Linked DNA regions of Homo sapiens: region 1 is linked to region 2. The links are contacts of gene promoters, found by promoter capture Hi-C in human tissues and cell types (Jung and others, 2019). All regions are on one chromosome and are shown on one strand. The core of a region is centred on a gene start or on the middle of the fragment in contact, and the rest is flanking DNA. Distances in the headings are between cores, read along the strand shown. Region 1 overlaps JAKMIP2 (janus kinase and microtubule interacting protein 2). Region 2 holds the start of JAKMIP2 (janus kinase and microtubule interacting protein 2).

Region 1 (3,982 bases), core at 991-3,490, 50 kb after region 2:
ACAAGGGCCTCGGGATACCTCCTCCATCTGTCCACTTTACACAGAGGATAAATCAGACTTTGTTTACAACCCACTAGAAACAGAAGGCAGTTTATTAGCAGTTTGTTATGATCTACGTGTAGTTTGTAAATCTTACCCCAAAATCAATTCCTGTTGTCCTTCTTGGAAAACAATCAGTTTTGTCAATAACCTTACATGCAAAAGTGCTGAAACAGCAATGGTAAATGAAAGGATGGAAAGTTTATCACAAATAAATACAAAAACAAAAAGGCGTTCCTTTTTTTTTTTTGTATTATAGTATAAGTTCTGGGATACATGGGCAGAATGTGCAGGCTTGTTACATAGGTATACATGTGCCATGGTGGTTTGCTGCACCCATCAACCCGTCATCAACATTAGGTATTTCTCCTAATGCTGTCCCTCCCCTAGCCCCCCCACCCTCCAACAGGCCCCGTTGTGTGATGTTCCCCCCTCTGTCCATATGTTCTCATTGTTCAGCTCCCACTTATGAGTGAGAACATGTGGTGTTTGGTTTTCTGTTCCTGTGTTAGTTTGCTGAGAATGATGGTTTCCAGCTTCATCCATGTCCCTGGGAAGGACATGAACTCATTATTTTTTATGGCTGCATAGCATTCCATGGTGTATATTTGCCACATCCTATTTCTCCACATCCTCTCCAGCATCTGTTGTTTCCTGACTTTTTAATGATCACCATTCTAACTGACATGCGATGGTATCTCATTGTGGTTTTGATTTGCATTTCTCTAATGACTAGTGATAATGAGCTTTTTTTCATATGTTTATTGGCCACATAAATGTCTTATTTTGAGAAGTGTTTGTTCATATCCTTCACCCACTGTTGGTGGGAGGGTAATTTAGTTCAACCATTGTGGAAGACAGTGTGGCAATTCCTCAAGGTTCTAGAGCCAGATATACCATTTGACCCAGCAATCCCATTACTGAGTATATACCCAAAGGATTATAAATCATTCTTACTATAAAGACACCTGCACACATATGTTTACTGCAGCAGTGTTCACAATAGCAAAGACTTGGAACCAACCCAAGTGCCCATCAATGATAGACTGGTTAAAGAAAATGTGGCACATATACACCATGGAATACTATGCAGCCATAAAAAAGGATGAGTTTGTGTCCTTTGTAGGGACATGGATGAAACTGGAAACCATCATTCTCAGCAAACTGACACAGGAGCAGAAAACCGAACACTGCATGTTCTCACTCATAAGTGGGAGTCCAACAATGAGAACACATGGACACAGGGAGGGGGACATCACGCACCGGGGCCTGTCAGCGGGTGGGAGAGTAGGGGAGGGACAGCATTAGGAGAAATACCTAATGTAAATGATGGGTTGATGGGTGCAGCAAACCATCATGGCACATGTATACCTGTGTAACAAACCTGCATGTTCTGCACATGTATCCCAGAACTTAAAGTATAATAAAAAAAGATAAATATTTTTAAAAATTGCTTTCTCCAAAGGGTGAGTGAAGTGCCTGACCAGAAGGCATAGGGAGCAAAGTGGAAAGTGCCAGCACAAAAGGATAATAATTAGGAAAGGCAAGAATGAGGCAGCTCAGTAACAGCATAAACATAAAGACATTCTTTGTTCATTCCATCCCTTTTTGAGCACAGCTCAGCATGGACTGAAATTGTCCATTTCAGCTTTTGTATCTGAGTTGCTCTCACATCTAAAGTGAATTATATTATCATGAGTAACATTTTTGTCTATTTTTTGTCCACATTTACTCAATAAGCATTCCTGATGACAACTACCTGTCAACTATTGTGCTCATCAATGAGGATGAAACGATTGATACCATCTCTCTCCTTAAGAATTTCAGAGTTTAATGGATTGAAAAAATCCTCACCTAAACCATGAGTTAATTATAAGTTGTTTTGCACAGCCAATCTCTATCAACTTAAAATTCTGTAAGCATTATAAGGATCTTAATTTTGGATATTTCTTTGAAGGTGCCAGGAAGACAGAAGAATTCTAATACAATGCTTTGAGATCAAATGGCAGAATGGTGTTAGATATTTCAGAACATAATACCATAAAAGATAAACATCACAGCGTGAAATTAAGAATAAAATCAAATGCCAGAAAAACCTGGGTTTAAATCGTGTGATCCCAGCTGTGAGACACTGGGCAAGCTAGTTAACCTTTCTAAGGCTTAGTTTCTTTACTGAAATAATATAGTGAAAGCACTTACATTGTGGGGTTTTGTGAGGATTAATGACATCATGCAAATAAAGTTCTTTGCACCTAGTAAATGTTCAATATACAGTTGCTATTATTATTTTAATAGTAGTATTACCTCATTATTACTATCTGAATACAATTAGCCTTATGTTTTCTCCTATATCCACCATTGAGGCAGACAAGGAGAAATAGCTGCAGTTAAATTCTAACATACTCTTACAAGAGATAGAGCCATCTCTGTTTTCTGTGTTGATAATTAGCAGCTGTGAATAGAACGCTGGCAGCTCCACAAACGCATGGTGAAAGAGAAGAACATTAAGAATCTATCCAGCAAGATGGGGGAAGGGCACAAAAATGGCAATTATTGTAAATGAAGCCACTAAACATTTTTATAGTTATTTTGGGCATTGTAAGAAATACATGGATTCACATGGGATGCTTTCTTAGATGCCATTTAATCAAAGCTTTATACAGAGTCTATTAAGTGTGCTGAGAAGAATTCACTAAACATAGACTGGAAACCTAAAGGGGTAAAAATTTGGAAGTGCAAACCGGGAGTCTGTATTTACCACCTTTCTTTGAGGAAAACTCAGGGATGGAAAAGAGATCACCCATGCAGATTAGAATTTACCTTGCAACTACTTGGCAATATTTAGTTTTAAAAACCCACGTAATAATACAACATGTTCCAAGATTTTCTGTAGTGATGTTTTGTATGCACAACACACTGATTCTAATTGAAATGCTGAGTGGTTTTCTTCTCCAAGGCTCAAATTCTTGATACATCGTCTGAATATCAAATACCCAGAACAATGCTGCAACACTGGGAGATGTGCAAATAAATGTGTTGCGTCGGGTTTCTGCCATGATACCAAGAACAGCTAATCATCCTCAGCCCCAGATGGCTGGAAACAAAATAGTTTTGAAATCTAGGTGACCTATTTTTCAAAACTTTTGTTGCAGTTGTCTTGGAAGAAAATAATCTGGATAAAAGGAAGAAGGAGGCATTGCTGTGCTTGCAGAGACTCTAAATCCAAAGGTCTTCCTGGGTAAACATGACGATTAATTTAAAGGAAAATAATCTAGATAAAAAGAATAAGGCATTGCTGTGCTTGCTGGGACTGTAAATCCAAAGGTCTTCTTCCTAGAAAAACATGACCATTAATTTAAGAGATCACGAACTTAAGTATGTTATTTGAGAAACTGCTACTTTCACAACTTCTGCAAAAGCCTCATTGAGAATCCTTCCAAACAGTCCTCATTTATTCCCAAGGCTTCAGAAGTAAGAGTATTATGTATAATTTATTGTCCAGACCTGGGCACTTTTAGAACACTGCTAATAGTCGTACCAGGACAGCAGGTGTAAAGTTAGTCTTTCGTGAGCTACTTGAAATATTACCATTGCTTTACCCAGAAGTGTAAATTACCTCGCAACCCCCCAAAGGATTTATTTCATCTTTCATGATTTCTTTTTCTAAAAATTCCAAGCAGTGCCTTTTATGGTCAAACCAGATCGTCGTGGTCTCATTGAAATCTCTCCCCTTGTCCATCCAAAATAGAACTGACGTGACCCTTGTTTCTGCATTGCATTGCCTCTGTGAATCTGGCCGGGGACACTCACTTTCATTTCCTGCCCATTCATTTTGTTCCAATCTAACAACTTGGCCTCAATTCTTCTGTTAAAGAAAAAATTATTCAATGTTATTTGTTAAAGCATGGTTAAAAAAAAAATCCTTTATTCAGGACCATCATGA
Region 2 (4,117 bases), core at 1,049-3,548:
CCTGGACGTGACCAAAAACAAATGAGTAAGTTGTATTTGAATGGTTAAACTGGATACTTCTTCAGATAGGAAACACCAAACTTTTCTCTTACCAATTGACTCTTGACCAGCTGTTTTATGTTGATGGGAGGAGAGGAAAAACTAGAATCACCCACCCCTAGACATTTGGCTCCTAGCGCTAAGGATGAAATGCTGTCCCGAGGACAGTGTGGAGGGTTCTGTCATCTAGTGTGTCATAACTTCTACAGCCTGCAGCTTCCTGGTCTGCTTACTTACAAGAACATCTCTGCAGAGAAAGCAGAAGATAAAATACAGGAATACAAAAAGAAGCGAGATGATCACATCCCATTCCTTTATGTTACACATTACACATAGGTGATGCTGACTTGGAAGTGTGTGCAGGTTGTGTGGCTGCTGAGACTTTGACAGAAGGCAGGGGACACTAGCTGCACAAAGGAGGTTGCAGGCTTTCCCACCAAGTGGATGGAAAGCCAGTGTCACGTGCTGGGGAACTGCTGCAACTCTTTCCTCATCACCTAGTTATCTTCAAGCCAGTTTTATTAGAAGAAGCCCCTGACATTAAGAGTGACACCATGCAGGAAAAAGTCTTCTCATGTTTTAATATTAGTTACTTACAAATGAGTAACAAGTAACTGTAGCTACATTTATTGAACATTTCCTATCTGCTAAAGACCGTACATTTTACACACGTCATCTAGTTTAATTTTTGTAATGACTCATGAGGTTCTGTGATTATTTCTTTTTACAGATGAAGAAACATAGATTTGAGGAAGTTAATAAATATGTTCCAGATTATACCTATAGTAAATACTGGCGCTAGGAATGGAGCCTAGATCGTCTGACTCTGGAACTTGTGTTAAACCCATTTGAACCTGTAAATAACTCTGTGGATTAAGAACAAAGATTATTTCCATTTTATGGAGGAGTGGCAGAAAAGTGTGGTGGTTAGGAGAGCAAATGTAAGTGTTAGAAGAGTCCATTTTGATTCCGGTTCTGTCGTTTATCAGTTGTGAATTTGGGAAATGTATCTAACTCCTCTGAGATTTACAATGTCCTCAAATATCAAGATGTAGAGAACACTTAATCTCTTAGGGCCTCTCTGTCTTTGCCATCATCATCATGGTTATTACGTACTTTGGATTTTCTCATCTTAATTTTTTCTCCTACCTGAAATTGCCATGTTATTCCCCTTAAACCCTTAGATTAAGAGATGGCTGCAATGTACTACTATGCTGCTAATAGTAAATATTTATTGTACACTTACTATATGCCAAGTGCTTTTAGTGCATTATCTCATTCAATCTTTACAACCCCTCCACGAGATAAATACTGGTGTCATCTATAATTTATAGTTAGAAACAGAACTCGCCTAGAACTGGACATTGCTGATTTCACTTCCCCCTTTTCCTGCCCACCACCCTGACTGCCAACTGACTTCGGAACTCCAAAAAGGCATCCATGAAAACGACAGGAATTGCCTGCAGGAAATTGAATGCTCCAGGAGTTTGACACTAAAAAGATTGGGAACTGTCCACCAACTTGTGCTACCGAGAATAGTGGTTGTTGAAAGGAATTTCGGTCTCTATCCAAACTTACTTTTCCTCAGGGATGTGTCAATTACCTCCAAGTCCTGTTCAGAAGGGTAGCTGGAAAAACAGTGAAACCAAGTAACTCACCTGAGAACAAGCCGGGAGTAGTGCAAAGGAATCAACCAGACTCTTAATTTATTACAAAGTCCAGCCACTCCGTTTGCTTTCTAAAAACCTTGTTGCCTGGTATTGAGTAAAAGATGCTATAAAGGACGAACACGTTTGGAAGTAATAATAATCTGCTATTATGCGACATAATTTTCTCCACATTTGTTGTTATTTTTCTGATAATAAATTTCATACTTTTTATTGGAAAACCACAGAAAATGCAAAAAATAGCTAAGCCGTTGGTATGTTTCTATCTAGATTTCAATTAAATTTTAATTATTCTCTCCCCGTGCCTAGCCCCCCTTGCCCCATTTTTAAAAAGACCTGGAGTTCAGGGTAGGAGACATCAAGAGCATCCTAGAGGGCAGCAGCACAAATTCACTCCCCTCCAGACCCTGCAGCTTGCTTCGCCCATCTCCCCTCCCCCTGAGCTTGGTCGCTTATCATTGGTCATTGCCATGGCAACCAGCAGCTGCCGGGCCAGCAGCCTCTACCGCAGCAGGGGTGGGGCACTGGGGGAGGGGGAGAGAGAGAGGAGGAGCCAGAGGAGGTGTCTGCTGCAAGTTCCTGGCTGCTTCCGAGCTCACCCCATCCTCCGAGAGGGAGGAGGCCCAACTGGTGATGCTGCTGCTGCTGCTGCTGCCGCCGCCGCCGCCTCTATTGCTGATACTCTAGTGGGGCTGGAAGGGTGGTTCCTATTCGCACCATCGCCAACCAGAGACAGAGGGAAAAAAAAAACCGGCAGCCACTGCTGATGTTGGGTTCGGAGGCTGCATCCGACTCGGTCACAAGGAAAATGGATTCAGTTTGCATCTCTCCCTCCTTTAAACAGCTTCTCCGGGTCTCAGCATGGTGAGTAGGAAACAGTAGGGCTCCCTTCTTGGTTTAGAGTGTTCTTATTTGACCTGTGTATACATTTCTGGCCTGAACTTGAACAATGACTCCCGTGCCTCAGACTAGAAGGGGGAGATGTGGAGACAGAGATGAGGATGGAGGGAGAGGAAGCTTGCCAGGAAGAGAGAAGTGAGAAGACAACCTCTTGTGTTTAAAAAAAAAAAATGGTGTTCTGATTTTATCTCTAACTGGCTCAGAATGCAGACTGAGCCACTTGGTGCCTTTTTTCCTAAGCTTAGCAACAGCATCAGGGGTTGGAAAAAGAGCTAACAACAAGAAGAGGGTGTTATTGAAAGGAATCATTTCATTTGCAGCTCTCACATACAGGGTTGGGCCTTCTTCAGAAATACATTTGGTGTCTCATAAGCTTACCAGACTCATTATAAGGTGGTTTTGCTTATTTTATTGATTGCTTAGAAAAAGTGGCCCCAGAATTTGACATTTTATTTTATATTCTAATATACTCTTGTTGAGAAATCATTTGCAAGACCCAGTTTTATTTTATACGTAGATTTGACTGTGAACTTACACATGTATATCTTATGGATATACAGATCATATATACACATGTCACTTAGCATTTATATTGCATTTATGAAGCATATTTATATGTAGGGTGTGCTTTGCAACCATTTTTATGGGTTACATATGTCCTTGCATGCCTGGAAGTAATTGCATGTTTTTGAAACTATGCTTCTGGTTTATATTATTATTCATTGGCTTTATTTGGATTAATGTGAAATTTACTCTGGTTATTGTCCCTTAGTTTCATTGTGACCGATTGGAACAGATGCCTATCGTTTGATCTGTGTCATAGAACTAGATGCAAATTTGTAGCCTGCCTCTTTATTTTTAATTGGGTTTGTGGGGGATGATATTGAGGACTCTGAATTTACAATGATGGGAATGGGAGGCGGTTTGTGGTATTATTTTGTGTCTAGCATCTTACCAAATCAATGTTGAAGCAAATCAGTTTTCTTGAAATGCCACCCCAACCTTTTCATGTTTGTGCCTTGTGTCCCAGGAAGCACAGCTAAGCTGGAAGGTGAAATGTATTCATTTTATTTAATAGTGCTGCTATCTGATGTTCATTCCTTCAGTATCCAGGAACCATTTCACAGTTCTCTCAGATGTTGTATTAAGGGTCTCCTTCTGTAAATAATTAAGTAGGAAAGTAGGATTGTTTTGAAAATCTAGGTATTCCCAAGCACCCTAGCCCAGCCGTTTCCAAATTAGTCTGCTTATACAATGAAATGAAACCAGAGAGTGAGCAAAGCGAGCAGGAGAATGTGTGGCTTGTAGCTGAAATGGGGGTCTATTGTAATTTACAAATGCTTACTGGGATCTGCTTGACCTTTTATTATGTCAAGGCTTTAAGGCAGTTCAGGAGACTAAAGATGCGTGAGATGAGGAGGTTCCATTCCCGCCCAGGATAATGGATTTCATTGAATTAAAGCCAGAAAAAATTATGTAGGTAAAGTGTATTAGTAATATTACATTTACCA

What was found. Contacts are between HindIII fragments. The study calls those that stand out against the background at their distance.
Region 1: a fragment that was not itself captured here is called in contact with the fragment with the promoter of JAKMIP2 in region 2 in 1 of the 25 tissues and cell types used here (hippocampus).

What each region holds. Positions count from the first base shown.
Region 1 is chr5:147,730,960-147,734,941 of GRCh38, reverse strand. All of the region lies in intron 1 of JAKMIP2 (janus kinase and microtubule interacting protein 2), which reads left to right. All of the region lies in intron 2 of LOC105378218 (a long non-coding RNA gene), which reads right to left. Among named protein-coding and RNA genes, the nearest start is that of JAKMIP2, 50 kb to the left of the region's middle. The HindIII fragment of the contact is 5,993 bases long and covers 1-3,982 here.
Region 2 is chr5:147,780,909-147,785,025 of GRCh38, reverse strand. It overlaps JAKMIP2 (janus kinase and microtubule interacting protein 2), which reads left to right and starts at 2,298. Exons shown (of 22, transcript NM_001270941.2): 1 at 2,298-2,570. The HindIII fragment of the contact is 11,129 bases long and covers 1-4,117 here.